Linked DNA regions of Homo sapiens: region 2 is linked to region 1. Evidence: promoter capture Hi-C in human tissues and cell types (Jung and others, 2019). All regions are on one chromosome and are shown on one strand. The core of a region is centred on a gene start or on the middle of the fragment in contact, and the rest is flanking DNA. Distances in the headings are between cores, read along the strand shown.

Region 1 (7,732 bases), core at 1,646-4,145:
GCATCAAACATTATAACATTTGCTGTTCTTCTTTTTTATTCTTACTTGGTTTATATACTAAGCTTTATTATCCTTTTAAGGTTAAAACTTTCTCAAGGACACTAACTGTAATGTGTACAACTTGGTAGCCAGCGTAACATTTGACATAGTGTCTTGTAAAAAGAAGATACTCAATCAGTTTTTGAATGATTCAAAGAGTAAAATAATGGCAACTTCTTTTATCTCTTCCATAGTGCAATCTTCAATATTTTTTAAACAACTATTGGCTGAATTCTACCATTGTGGTTTAGAGCTTTCTCTGAGACATTTTTGCTAAGGTTTTGAAACAGGTTCCAAATTGGTCCACAGTGACCTCCAAGGCTCTACAGGAGTGGTCCTCAAGCTTCAGCTCATTGGGCCCCACTCCCAGAGTTTCTGATTCAGTAGGTCTCAGGAAAGGACCAAGAACATACATTCCTACTGGGTAATGAGGAGGCTGCTGCTGGTCCAGTAGTCACACTTTCAGAGCCACTGCCCTGTGAGCTCATGGCACTCCATGATTCCCGCCACACTGACATAATCCCCAGCTGACTTCAGTCTTGCTTACTCCACTCCAGGTTCAGCTTCCTTACATACACCAGGCATGCTCCTGCCCAGAGCTTTGCCCATGTGGTTTCCCCAGATACCCATGTACTTGTTCCTTTACCTCCCTCAGGTCATTCCTCATATGTCACCATCTCAGTGGGCCCTTCCATAAAACCCAGTTAAAAATGGCAACATCCTTCTCCCCTCACACGCTAACTGACACACACACATACACAAACACACTCTCTCTCTCACACAGCATACGTACACACACTCCCTATCATATCCCTTTCCTGCAATGCTTTTCTCCATACCATTTACACCATCTGATGTATTGTATGTGTTACTTCTTTGTCTCCTCTCTATACTGCCCCCTCCCTGCCCCCAGAATGTAAGATTCCTGAGGCAGAGATTCTCGTCTGTCTTATTCATTCCTGAATCCCAGAACTGAGAACAGTGTTTGGCACATAAACATTCAAAAAGAGCCGGTATTTTAATTGGGTGACTGTAGGGACCACAACCCTACCTATTTTCAGACCGTGAACCATAAAGAAGACAAGCTTATAGCTGAAGTGAATTAAGCACGATCAACTCAGTACTCACACTGCCCAGATGTGTCTGGCCAGCATGAGGGTGCAGAGGAAGACACCCTGAACTCTCCAGGGCCCTGGACAGATGGCCACTCTGTCTTCACTTTTCTCATCTATAAGATGAAGTTGTTGGATGATATATCAATATTTACAATGTTGTTTCTAGCTCTAAAACTCTATGCTTTTATCTTCCCTTGGATCTTCATGGCACCAGAAGGAAAGTCTTAGGACCCTTGGACCTGTGAGCAGATCAGCTATAGTCCTGAGTTGACAAATTTCTCTTGGCATTTTTACCCTTTGACTGCTGTCAATAACTTCAGCACAGCAAAGGTAGCAAAATTCTATTGGGAATCTTTTCCCAATCAAAGCTACAGCCCCATAGCTGTGTTGCCTTTTTGGTTTTGTGTGAAGCAAAATTTTTTTCCTGGGTCCTAATTGGTGCCAAATCCAATATTACTACATTTGCGTCAACTCAGAAGTCAACCCATTCAGTTTGCATAGAGGAAACATCTAGAAATCTTGCTTTTCTTTGCTGACCTTGATATATTTGAGATTTGAACATATAATAACATATAAAATTATATGTTATAATTTTGGGTTTTATGGGCTAAGTCATAAACCATCTTATACATAAATTCCAATAGAGAAAAAATGGTGGATGCTGAATTTTAATAAAAAATTTATGACAGAGAAACCTAAAATTGAGAAAATTTGATCTTACAGTTTAATTTCTGCAAATTAAGAAGCACTGGCCCATCAATTGCATTTCAGAGCACAGAGTGGAAGAAGGTTAGCACAGACTGGCATGTGGCTTCACATCTACTAGTTGTTACACCTTAGGAGGATTATTTAACCTCTCTGTGCTTCAGTTTCCCCAACTATAAAATAGAAATGACATGATAGCACCCAACTCCTAGGGCTGTTGAGAGGCCCAAATGAGGTGATACAAATAACATTTTTGAAGTGGGCCAGGCACCCAACCAAGTCTTGACCAATGTTGCCTATTATTATTCATTGCTGAAGGCTGGAGTGAGAGGCATTTAGGGAAAAGTAAGCTCAGGCAAAGGAGAAAAAATAAGAACATTGTAGGAAAAATGGAAAGATTCACAAGAAGGGAGAGGAAGAGGCAGCACAAATATATTGGAGGAGCTCCACATGCTTATTTGACTCAAGACCTGTTCATTTGAACCTTTAGAAAATCGTTCATCTTTGCTTATACAGAGCTTCATCTGGTGTGTCCATGCCAGGGTGCAAGAGTTGTCTGTGCACTCAGACTTTTGAGCAAGGCTGTTTCAAATGTTCTTTTAGGGTATTTGTCTCCACAAAACTCTATAGCTGGGCCAGGAGCATCTGGATCCTGCAACCAGGGATTTTCCAAGAGCAATCTTTTATATTGAGGGGGAAAGTTTAAAGGTATTTTTTTTTTTTGTCTTGTTATGTTTTTAAGTAACTTTTCACAACTACAGGCCTGTAAAAAATAAGGGTTGGGATAGCCTGAATTCCAGGGCTCTTGCTGGGCCCACTCTGCTCAATTTGCCTCTCGTTCCAAGGTGAATCAGCAATTTCCAAGGCCTGTTGACACCCTCAGAGGGTTTCCCAAGCACACTCTGTGTTTGGGGTTATTGCTCTGAGTATGTTTCTCGTATGTCACTGAACTGTGCTTGGGCTGCCCTTAGGGACATTGATCCTTAGGCAAATAGATAATGTTCTTGAAAAAGTTTGAATTCTGTTCAGTGCTTTAGAATGATGAAAACCGAGGTTGGAAAAGGTTGTGAAACCTTTTAACTCTCCACAGTGGAGTCCATTATTTCCTCTGGCTTCCTCAAATTCATATTCACAGGTAAGTAACTTATACTTGTCTCTGCAAATCCATTCCCTCTTCCCTTTAACTCTTACTTTGTGGAGTGGAGTGTTTCTGGTTTATTAAACATTGGTCTCTTGTCCAGTGTAAACAACGCTACAATACTTGGATAGAAACTTACAGGATGCATTAATGATTTCACAACATTGTATACAATACAGATGACTCTTGGTTGCTGTCTTCTTTATAGCAATGCTATTTCATGTATCAATCTCTTAGAGAGAGAGAGAGTGGTGTACATGGGTGTGTGGTACAAATGGCCGAATAGATTGAATAATCTGCTCAAAGTAAAAATACCAGTGGGCTTCTTTTTTAACTTGGCTTTGTGAAAGCACAATTCTGTTTGCTCTGATAATCACAGATTCAATGATCACAAATTCTACCCTTGAAAGCTGGTTTAATGCAGAACTACACCGACTTTATCTTTTCTCCAACACCGTACTCATTTCTTCATTGTCCCGGTTTTCAAAAATATAGATGCAAAAAAAAATGAGCTGTGGATGCATGTTTAGAGGGGAGAAAGTTTGTTTCTAGGATCTAATTTCAGTTTTTAGGTCACCCAAGCCAGTGGGAGTCACATATTGCTAATGGCTTGAGCACAGAGATCAAATATTATTCACACTTCAGACTGGGAATAAAAGACAGTATTTGTCAACATTTTGAGGGGGAATAGCTTTTTAGAGATGTTAGAGACAAATTATAGTGGTTATACCTAAAACTTTTTAATATTAGGAGTTAGTAGTGGTTTTTATTAAACATTTGAAGTGATAACTTATTTATGAGCTGTTGTTTAATAGAAGTTCTTTTCTGTGGGCAACCTCGTCCCCTCACTGCTCACCCCCCTCACCTTGGTTCCCCCTGCTGTGCTCTGTAACACTGTGATTGTCTCTGGTTGAAGCCTCCATTTCCCTGTCTAGGAGCTTCTGTTTACACTCCACCCCACTCTAGATTGCAAGCCCCTTGAATAATTTTTGTTTCCTAGTACCAAGAATAATGGTGACAAATATTAGGGGATGACTCCTAAAAATGGATTAAGAAGCTATTTAGGGGGAAAATGCCCATTTTGTGGTTTTAAAAGATGCTACAATTGCCATAAAATGCCCAAGTTTCATTGCAGAAATCAAATACTGGAGTTGTGTTTTGCTTGGTCAAGAGGAAAGAACTGGCCGGGCGCGGTGGCTCACGCCTGTAATCTCAGCACTTTGGGAGGCCGAGGCGGGTGGATCATGAGGTCAAGAGATCGAGACCATCCTGGCTAACACGGTGAAACCCCGTCTCTACTAAAAATACAAAAAATTAGCCGGGCGCGGTGGCGGGCGCCTGTAGTCCCAGCTACTCGGGAGGCTGAGGCAGGAGAATGGCGTGAACCCGGGAAGCGGAGCTTGCAGTGAGCCGAGATTGCGCCACTGCAGTCCGCAGTCCGGCCTGGGCGACAGAGCGAGACTCCTCTCAAAAAAAAAAAAAAAAAAAAAAAAAAAAGAGGAAAGAACTGTACATTTAGAGACAAAGAATCGCTGTGGCAGTTAACTTTGGTGTTACATTCTGTTTTCTTCCTAAGCAATTCTTTAGTCCTCTACCTCAACGGTGCCTCTGAAGAAAGGACTTACGTGGCCAATGGGATCACCGTGTATTTATTTCCCTTCCCTATCAGCCATAGCCCTCAGGGCTGGAAGGGCCTCATTTTAGTCTATTCCCAGACTGGGTCACCCACAGTGTTGACACACAGCATCAACCGACAGTGAGCTTATCTGGAAAATAATGCCTTTCTATTTTCTTTGTTTCTTAGCATATATTAAATGTTTCTTTCCTTCTCTAATAATCTTTTAGATAAAGAAATCATTTGCTGAGCTGATAATAACAAAAGTATCCTACCTACATTTTTAAATGTCAGCAGTGAAAGACGTTTTAAGGGCTTTAAAAAAAAAAAAAAGAAAGAAAAGAAAACTGTAGTTTAGAAAGGACATCCAAATTGAAGAGGAGCAGGGGCAGTTCTGTTCTCTCTGAGCAGCTCTGTGAAGGGGGAGTTTGTGGCGCTGGGGTCTTGAAAGTCTTTACAGAGGGCAAGACTTCACAAGAGAAAAGCCGTGGAGGGACCCTCACATGATCAGAATATTCACAGTGTGATGTGGGGCATGGTGGGGGCGGGTGCTCTCCACTCCCGGGCCTGGCTTGGTTCCCCTCACTGTCCTCAGCTCCTCAATGGCTTTGAGGACATTTAGATTCTTCTTACCATCTTGGCCTGAATGTGGAAAAAGCTCTTTTTCCTTAATTAAGTCTAGAAAAGGTCAACATGTTTCAAAAAATAGCATTTGGGTGGAAATTAAATGGAAAGTGGAACAAATCTCTGCAGAGAAAATGCAAAACCCTAGAACACAGACAGAGCCATCTCTGCCTCTTGGTCTGGTGGGATCTCTATTCTTCTCAAACCCATTTCCTAACCTCTGTGGGTGTGGGCTCCAAGTCCCAAGCCTTATCAGGGTAACTTTTTTTAAGTATAAATTTGATCATATCCTTTCTTGCCTAAAAGACTTCATTAGCTTCCCATGGCCTTTAGGATAAGGTCCCAAGTTCTCAGTGGTAAGGATCATGAGGCCCTGAAGGATCAACCAGCCACATCCTCCCGAGTTGCCCATCCGCCTCCCTGAGATTCACTGGGCTCCTTCAGCCTTGGACCCGGCTGCCCTGTCTCTTGCATCTGGGCCTTTGCATGTGTCCTTCCCTGCCTGGACTGCTCTTCCCTCTCCTCTTCCCATGGAAAACTTGCTCTCATCTTCAACATCTCATGCTAAGCACTTGCTCCAGAGCCTTCTCCAGCTCTCTAGACAAGGCAGCTCCTCTGCATCAGGGCCCAGGAGATGCCTGTATTTCCCCTTTCCTCACTGCCATCCTGCTTGACGCCTAATTTCCCAGATAATGTCTGCCTTCCCTGCCACATTGTAAGTTCCATGAGGGTAGGGCTGGCTGGAGGGCTGGTGCTCCACACAATTTTTAGGGTAGGTAAATCAGGTCCTCAGAGATTTCTTCCTGGGCCTCAGGCTGCCCTGAACTGATCTCACAGTACAGGGATTGACATTTTCTGCAAAGAGCTGTATAGTGAATATTTTAGGTATGGGAGAGAGAAAGGGCCATACATTCTGTCACTGTAGCACAGAAGCAGCCAAAGATAATAGAAAATGAAAGGGTATGACTGTGTTCCCATAAAACTGTATTTATAAAATAGGATGGTAATGGTATCTTTCAGCCCAGAAGGATTCAGCTCTGGAGACACCTTTTCTCAACCCTGACCCTTTTTTTTTCTTCAATTCTTCTACAATACCAATAGCCAATTGCTAGTATTGATCCCAGCCATTGGTGAAGATCAGCCTGTCCATCTGTTGCTCCAGGCTGACATCCCCACCAGTTCACACTAGCAGCCTTGCTGTAGTGGCAAGTAGTGGGCACTGACATTTTATGCTCTCAGGATCTTTGATTTCTTTCTGGCATGGCTTGTAGAACCCTGTATCTCCTCCAATTTTGACAGCCTCAGGACCTTTGTGGTACTACTCATTCAGGCCCATTTTTAAGGTCAGTCAAAGTACTAGGTTCTCTCAAGTGACCATCTAGCTGATGGTCTCTCTTCCCCATCCCCTCCTCCCCAGCAGTGAGGTCTTTCAGAATGCTGTTGTTAGAGTGTAAGATAGAAACATCTTTGATATGTTTTTACCAGTAATTGTCAGGAGACTGTTCTCTAATGTGCGTATCTGTGTTGATAAGATTACACATTTTATCAAGAGAAAACTTCAACCCTGAATAGTTAAACAGAAGCGCATATAGTGTGCAGGTTATAGACCACATGTCACTTAGCAGAGAGGAACACTGGAGTTGGTGTGGACAATTAAGAATTCTTGGGGGATTCTATGATTAGGTGTCCAAAGTCTGCCAACTAGTGCTTAGACATCTCGATTTCCTGCTTTTTACTCTTAGATTCCCTTAAGTTTATTGGAAAATACATTTTTCTGGAATGCCTTGAAAATTCTCAGTCTGTTCCTGAAGAGATTTTGGGGAGGTTAAAATAATTTAATATGTTAAAGTGCACAGTAAAAATGAAATAGCATTGGATGTTATTTTCAACTCTGAGTTTTCTTGTGTTAGTTTAAGTAAAATTTTGTTATTGTAAATTTGTTAAGAAACCCTAATTAAAGCCTCCTTCAATGTATGAAACTCAAATCAAGTTATTAGGTTAGGTGCTAAAAAAGTGTTACAGCTAATGGCCGAGACAGTAGAACTAGGTGACATTATATCTACTTGTAATCAGTGAGGAAAAATAATGTGGCAAAACACCATGGTACTCTTAAATCATAGAAAGTGCCAAATGAGGAGGAGGTACACTCTCAAGAACCTGCAAAACAAATATGTTTATCACCAAAAACTAGATTCCCACTGCATTTCCAGGGTTTCAGAGACTGGCAGCCATGTCCTCCAGCATCTGATGTATGGGTTTCCCAACATCTCATCTGATAAAAAAAATAATTTGCCAGTGGAAGAAAACATGGTCTAATAATATATATCAGATATATATTCTACATTCATAATGATACATGGCAATTCATCTAATATTCAATTCTGAAAACCTCTTTTGTGGCAAATATCACAGGCAAGGCCTTCATTCTTTCTAGAAATTTCGGTTTTTCAGTGTACTTTCCCAAACTTAGTGTTATAAAATTCCCAGTGTTTTTGT
Region 2 (7,732 bases), core at 3,385-5,884, 41 kb after region 1:
AGAAATGCAAGCAAATAATCAGAACTAACACATATTGTTTATTATATGATAGGCGCTGTCCTATAGGCTTTACATATATTCGCTACTTTAATCCTCATTATTACCCATTGGGGTAGGTTCTATTATTGTTCTTATTTTACAGACAAGAAAATTGAGCCACAAAAAGGTTAAGTAACTTGCCCAACAAGAGTCTGTATTCAAATTCCTAGTCTGGCTCCAGAATCTGCACTCTTCACCACTACTCTATACTGCCTATATGCAGAATGCAATAATTCCACACACATACAAATGCACAAGGATTAATTACAGTGTTACGGAAACACAGGGAGAAAGGTGTTACTTCTTCTTGGGGGATTATACAAGATTGATGCACGAGAAGGTATGTGACTAGAACCTTGAGGCTGAAAGGATTCAGCAGGCATGAAGAAAGAAAAGCTTTGCAAGACAGAGCAAGGATATTAGCTATGTAAAAGAAAAAGACAAATAAGATGGTTTCCAAAAGCCTTTATCAACACTGAGTACCAGCTGGGAAACCTAGATTAAGAACAAAATTGATTGGCTATCAGGAAAGAGGCTTGATAACATCCCAAGGTGCAGCAAATTTTCCAAGATCTGAGAGGCTGTTAATGCTATCCAAGGGTGATAGGGATAGAGAGATGGGAATGTTTAAAAGGGAAAGACTGAGACTTTCAGCAAGATATTTGAATGATCAAATTCAGTTTTAGTGACCAAAATCTTTCTGGTTTCTAGTGATATTAATAAAATCAATGATGCCATAGCTGACCAAATGGCCCTTTTCATTCAGCGCATGACCTCGACCATCTGTGGTTTCCTGTTGGGATTTTTCAGGGGTTGGAAACTGACCTTGGTTATTATTTCTGTCAGCCCTCTCATTGGGATTGGAGCAGCCACCATTGGTCTGGTAAGAATGTCTTTTTGCATCTCTCCATGGGAAGACATTTGCCTTCATAAACAGCCAAAAATGTGAAGCTTGAGTCCCTTTTCCTGAGTACAGTTAGCAACATAATTATCACTATCTTCATGTAGTTTGTTAGATTACTCCCCAGTGTCAAATGACATTTCATCGAATAGGGATTAATGATGTTTTAATAGGTAAATATTGTTTTATTAACAGCAATTACATTTATTGAGCATTCACTGTTTCTCTAGGCACTACTAGGAGCTTAATAGTCATTATCTCTAATCTTTACAACAATCTTATAAAGTGAGCACTAACATCATTTTAAATATAAGAAACTAGGCTCAGAAAGGTAAGGGGATTTGTCTGGGACTGCACAGCTGGCAGAGTAGGATTCAAGTCTAAGGGGCTCTGACTCCAAACCCCACTCACTCTCCAATATGCCTATTGTTCTCCATGTCCTCCCAAGCTTGGGCACTTCCCTGAAAAGGCACAACAGACAAAGAGCATTAACAAGCACACAAGAAGGATTTCTGCAATCACAACTGTGTTCTCCATTTCATCTTATCTTTCAGATAACCTCTTTCAGAGAGAGGTGATCTGACCCATTCCAAGAGTTATCCCAGTCACTGTCTCGGTTCCCCAGGAATTGAGGCCTGGACAACATATAGGAATAGGAATTTCGGGTCACATCAGCTAAAAACACTCCCAAGGACTGAGAAATTATTATTAGAGCAGCCACATTAGATAGCACGTTATGGAATCAGGCATACTAAAACTGTGCTATAAATGAGAATAGAATTTAACTGAAAAACTGCATACACCCTCACACATCGTTGAGCAATAGGTACCAACTTCCTATTGCTCAATAGCAAAATATTCTCACAGTGTCTACATTATTCAAACATTTCCCAGATAAAATAGAAAATGGTTTAAAGTGACAATAGCAAAGAGCTCGCTCCATTTCATTAGGTCACCACTTGGCTGTACCGCTAACAGGTTGTGTGACTCAGGAAAAATCCATTTAACCCCTGAAAACCTCAGTTTCCTTGTCTTTAAAATAGGGATAATACCTCCCAAAAACATTATGATGATTCAGGGAATAATCCACGTTATGCATTTAAGCCGTGTCGGGCACAGAATCAATTGCTAAAGAGAGATGTATATGTTTTTCAATCCACTATATCATTCAAGTTTTACGGCAGTCTTTCCTACTAACCACTTTCCAACTATACTCCAGAGAACCCTCAACTTCCACAGAAGAGCTTCAGGGGTTTTGCAAACATTTTTTCATTTTTTTTCTGAATACACTAATCTCTTTCTTCAAACCTGTGATAAAGTAATATACACACTCACGTGGATCATAGGCCACATTTCAACATGTTGGAGGTTAACATATAGCCCAGTTCACTTGGTTTTAAACAGCTCTAACGCTTAGTTTCTCTAGTCATCTCAGTACCCATTTCTAGCTTCTCATAAACTCGTCACTGATTTGGAATGTTGTAGGTCTGCACATGTCTTGTCTTGCTTTCAAGTCTGTGTATGCTTGTCCTTATACAACAAACTTCTACAAGCAACTATACAACAAACTATACAAGCAACTTCACTAGGCTCAAATGTAAATTTTAATGTTAATAAAAACAGCTTCCAGTCTTGGTAACACAGTGAGATCCCATCTCTACAAAAAAAAAAAAAAAAATTTTTTTTAAATAGCCAGGCATGGTGGCATGTGCCTATAGTCTCGGATACCCAGGAGGCTGAGGCCAGTGAAATGCTTGAGTACAGGAGTTTGAGACTGCAGTGAGCTAGGATCATGCCACTGCATTCCAGCCTGGGCAACAGAACAAGAACCCGTCTCTTTAAAAAAAAAAAAAAAAAGCCTCACTTTCCTTACTGTTACATGTTTAATTCACATGTTTTATAAAATGTACACTGATGAAATTAATATATTGTTTTTAAAAACTACTATGAATACTTACTTAATTTACATCTTAGAATTCCATCTAAGATTTTGATAAGAGTTTTGCTGCTAAAAGTTTGGAAAAACTACTGGAAGATAAACTCCCTTAATCTGGGTATTATATATATTTTTATATTTCTGAGCTAGTTGATCTTCCGCAATATGTGTTTTTTCCTCTTCTTATTTATTAATCTGTGCCAGGGTTTTCTTTGGGGGTTCATTTTGACTAGGACTCAATCCAAGTCAGTTTTAGAAAAAGTAATGTGTCTACTGTTAAGTACAGATGTCTTTTCATTTCCTTTTGTAAAAATCAAAACTACATAGTTGAGCGTCTCCAACTGAGTGAAAATGGACTTTCTTTTCTGGAATCATCTGAAATCGTCTTTCAACATCATGCCTATACTTTATATGTTATATGTCATATATTATACCCAATCATGATATCTGCATGTGTCTCTGGCGTTTGTCTATAAATTATGCAATGGCCATTGGCTAATAGCAATGAACTATGACATGGTCTAACTTAACACTTTATTAGTATAATGACTGAAACACTTTAGTCTTACAGAATGTCCTATTTGGAATTTATTCTTTGAGGAGGTTCTTACTTTTAGTAGGGTCATTTTGATATATCAACAACCAGACAACCCTGGATGAAGCTTACCATAGACCAAATTTGGACCAGATTTCTTCCTCCTGTCAATGATGTTACAGTGAGAATCTAATATTGTATTAAACCCATGCCACATGTTAAATGAATCTGAATGACAGACTGACTTACCTAATTTCTTGGACTTCACATTTTCTTTTCTTCTTTTTGATTTTTAGAGTGTGTCCAAGTTTACGGACTATGAGCTGAAGGCCTATGCCAAAGCAGGGGTGGTGGCTGATGAAGTCATTTCATCAATGAGAACAGTGGCTGCTTTTGGTGGTGAGAAAAGAGAGGTTGAAAGGTTGGTTAATTGGAATCTGATTCTTTCCTTAATTTCATCAATCAGCATAGTACCCTGAGTCTCTCAGTTTGTGCAAAGCGGCAGACCCACCTTGGTCTGTGGCCTCCAGAGGAAGTACTTGTTCAAGAGGGAGCTAAGCAGAGTAATTTAGGTTGGTAATTTAGGTACTATAAGAAGTCCCAAGCCTTTAGCAGTATGTTTTTAAAGATGTTGCAGTTGGCAATTTTTAGAAAGCCAGCTCAGGGTAGATATTTATTTCAAACTCTGATGGTATGTATGTATAAATATTATACCTCATATCAGTCTATAATGCTGTTTGCTGTCATTAAAGAAAAGCCTACATGAGACATTACAACTGATACCACAGAAATACAGAAGATCATAAGAGATTACTAAAAACAAACGCCAACAAATTGGATGACCTAGAAGAAATGGATAAATTCCTATAAAAATACAACCTGCCAAGGTTGAATCACGGAGAAATAAAGAGAAATAAATCTGAACATACCAATAATGAGTAAGGAGATTGAATCAGTAATAAAAAGTCTCCCATGAAAGAAAAGCCCAGGACCTGATAGCTTCATTGCTGAATTTTACCAGACATTTAAAGAAAAACTAGTACCAGTCCTCCTCAAATTCTTCCACAAAATTAAAGCGGAGGGAATACTTCACACTCATTTTACAAGGCCAATATTACCTTGATACCAAAGCCAGAAAAGGATACTACAAGAAAATCAAAGGCCAATATCCATGATAAACATGGACGTGAAAATGCTCAACAAAAATACTAGTAAACCAAATTGAATAGCACATTAAAAGAATCATTCACCATGATCAAGTGAGATTTATCCCTAGGATGTAAGGATGGTTCAACATAGGCATGTCAATAAATGTAATATACCACATTAACAGAATGAAAGACAAAAACCATATGGTTATCTCAATAGATGCTGAAAAAGCATTTAACAAAATTCAATATCCTTTCCTGACAGAAACTCTCAACAAATTAGGTATAAAAAGAATGTACCTCAATACAATAAAGGTAACATATGACAAGCCCACAGCTAAATCATACTCAAGGGTGAGAATTTGAAAGCTTTTCCCCCTAAGATCAGGAACAAGACAAAAATGCCCATTCTTGCCACTTCTTAGCAACCACAAAAGACCTTGAATAGCAAAAATCCTGAACAAGAAGAACAAAGCTGGAGGCATCACGTTACCTGATCTCAAAATCTACTACAAAGTAATAGATCATTATTAGATTATTTGATTACTATAGTAATAAAAACAGCATGGTACTGGCATAGAAACAGACACATAGACCAGTGAAAAAGAATGGAGAGCCCAGAAAGAAGTCCATGCATTTATAGTCCATTGATTTTCAATAAAGAGACCAACAACACACCATGAGGAAAGGGCAGTCTCTTCAATAAACGATGTTGGGGAAACTGGATATCCACATGCAGAAGAATGAAATTTGATCCTTACCTCACACTATACACAAATATCAACTCAAAATGGATTAAAGTTTTAAATGTAGGATATAAAACTGAAAAACTACTAGAAGAAAGCATAGGGAAGAAGCTCTATGACATTGGTCTAGGCAATGATTTTTTTGACACAACCCCAAAAGGACAGGTAACAAAAGCAAAAATAGACAGATGGGATTACATCAAACTAAAAAGCTTCAAAAAGGAAGCAATCAACAGAGTGAAGAGGCAATTTATAGAATGAGAGAAAATATTTGTAACCCATACATCTGATAAGGGGTTAATATCCAATACATATAAGAAACACAAACAACTCAATGACAAGAAAACAACCTGATTAAAAAGTGGTCAAAAGACCTGAATAGACATTTCTCAGAAGAAAACATACAAATAGAAACGTACAAAAAGAAACATACAACAGGCATGTGAAAAGATGTCACACATCACTAATCATCAAGGAAACACAAGTCAAAACCACAATGAGATATCATCTTATACCTGTAAGAATGGCCATTATAAAAAGAAGAAAGATATCAAGTGTTGGCAAGCATATGGGGAAAATGAAACACTGTTACACGGATCGCTTTTGGTGGGAAAGTAAATCAGTACAGCCAAAGAGTATGGAGATTCATCAAAAAATGGAAAACAGAACTACCATATGATCCAGCATCCCCACTACTGGGTATATATCCAAAGGAAATGAAATCACTATGTCAAGAGAAAACTGTACTCTTACATTCACTGCAACATTATTCACAATAGCCAAGGTATGGAATCAACCTAAGCACCCATTAACAGACAAGTGAATGAAGAAAATGTGTGTGTAAATTTACATGCCATATTCAATAGAATACTATTCAGCCTTTAAAAAGAAGAAAATACTGTTATTTGCAGCAACACGATGAACCTGGAGGACATTATGTTAAGTGAAATAAGCCAGGCACAGAAAAATACCCCATGATCTCACTGACAGAGTTGAACTCACAGAAGCAGAGAGCAGAACAGTGGTTACCAGGGACTTTGAGGTGGGAGGGGGCAGGCGAGAACTGGGGAGACGTTGGTCAAAGGATTCAAAATTTCAGTTAAACAGGGGTAGTTTGAGATATTTTAAAAATAATGACATTAATTATCTAATTGTAGTTGTTTTAATTTAGTTCATGGTGATCTAAAAGAAACCCTTCCTTATTCACATTTAAGAGGCAGTTTATAAAGTCAAGAAATGTGTTGTTAACATGGTGACTATGGTTAATAACATCACATTGCATACTTGAAAATTGCTAAGAATAGATTTTTAAGTGTTCTCATCACACACACACACACAATATAAGTATGTGAGGTAATGCATGTTAATTATCTTGATTTAGCCATTCCACAATTTATACATACTTCAAACCATCATGTTGTATACCATAAATATATGTAAGTTTTGTCAATTAAAAAATAATAAAGAAATGCCAGCATGATTCAAAATGCTATTTCACACATTTTTATTGAACACCTTTTTAATTAAACACACTTTATTCAGGTACTGTGCTACATGTTCTTTATAAAGTCTGATAAGATTTCTATTTGGTCAAACAGGCTGGGCACAGTGGCTCACACCTGTAATCCCAGCACTTTGGAAGGCCAAGGCAGGTGGATTGCTTGAGGCCAGGAGTTTGAGACCAGCCTGGGCAACATGGCAAAACCTCATCTCTACAAAAAAATACAGAAATTAACCAGACATGGTGGTGTACACCTGTAGTCCCAGCTACTTGGGAGGCTGAGGTGGGAGGATCACCTGATTCTGGGGAGTTTGAGGTTACAGCGAGCTGTGATCATGCTACTGCACTCCAGCCTGAATGATGGAGTGAGACCCTGTCTCAAAAAACAAATTAGTGTTGAAAAGTTATAGAGCATTATTCTAGAGATTAACTCCCAGTGAAAAGAAAAACCCAAATGGCCAAAATAATACAGTTGTCCAAAATGTAATTTTGTTTATTCTTTAATTTATCTGGTATTTATTGAGTACTTACTACGTGCCATGCTTTGATTTTTATAAAATAGCTACCAACTGAATAGCAACTCTTACTTTATGTGTTGTAGATTTGGTAAGATGGTGTTATTCTCAGTTGCTACCAAATCCATCAAGTAAAAAAGAGAATAGGATTTACAACCTCTTATTATCGTCTTTTCCCCACTTCTTTTGGTTTGTGGAGTGAGGTTCCTTATTTCTTGTAAAAAATTTCAGTAGCATATTTCTTCCACCATGAAAGACATTATCTTTTATTGTCAATAAAAGAGACAGTGTAGTGTTTTAAAAATGGTAACAAACATAGGATAGACCTTCAGTTTGTGTCCTGCAAAAGGTTAAAAGTTCTCCATGAATTCAATTCCTGAGATGTAGGAAGGCAGTTTCAGAATGCCTGAG

The links. Contacts are between HindIII fragments. The study calls those that stand out against the background at their distance.
Region 2: a fragment that was not itself captured here is called in contact with the fragment with the promoter of ABCB11 in region 1 in 4 of the 25 tissues and cell types used here (IMR-90 fibroblasts, bladder, hippocampus and 1 more).

The regions. Positions count from the first base shown.
Region 1 is chr2:169,026,487-169,034,218 of GRCh38, reverse strand. It overlaps ABCB11 (ATP binding cassette subfamily B member 11), which reads left to right and starts at 2,895. Exons shown (of 28, transcript NM_003742.4): 1 at 2,895-2,994. The HindIII fragment of the contact is 8,591 bases long and covers 754-7,732 here.
Region 2 is chr2:168,986,901-168,994,632 of GRCh38, reverse strand. It overlaps ABCB11 (ATP binding cassette subfamily B member 11), which reads left to right. Exons shown (of 28, transcript NM_003742.4): 8 at 751-922; 9 at 3,708-3,832. Among named protein-coding and RNA genes, the nearest start is that of ABCB11, 41 kb to the left of the region's middle. The HindIII fragment of the contact is 4,342 bases long and covers 2,464-6,805 here.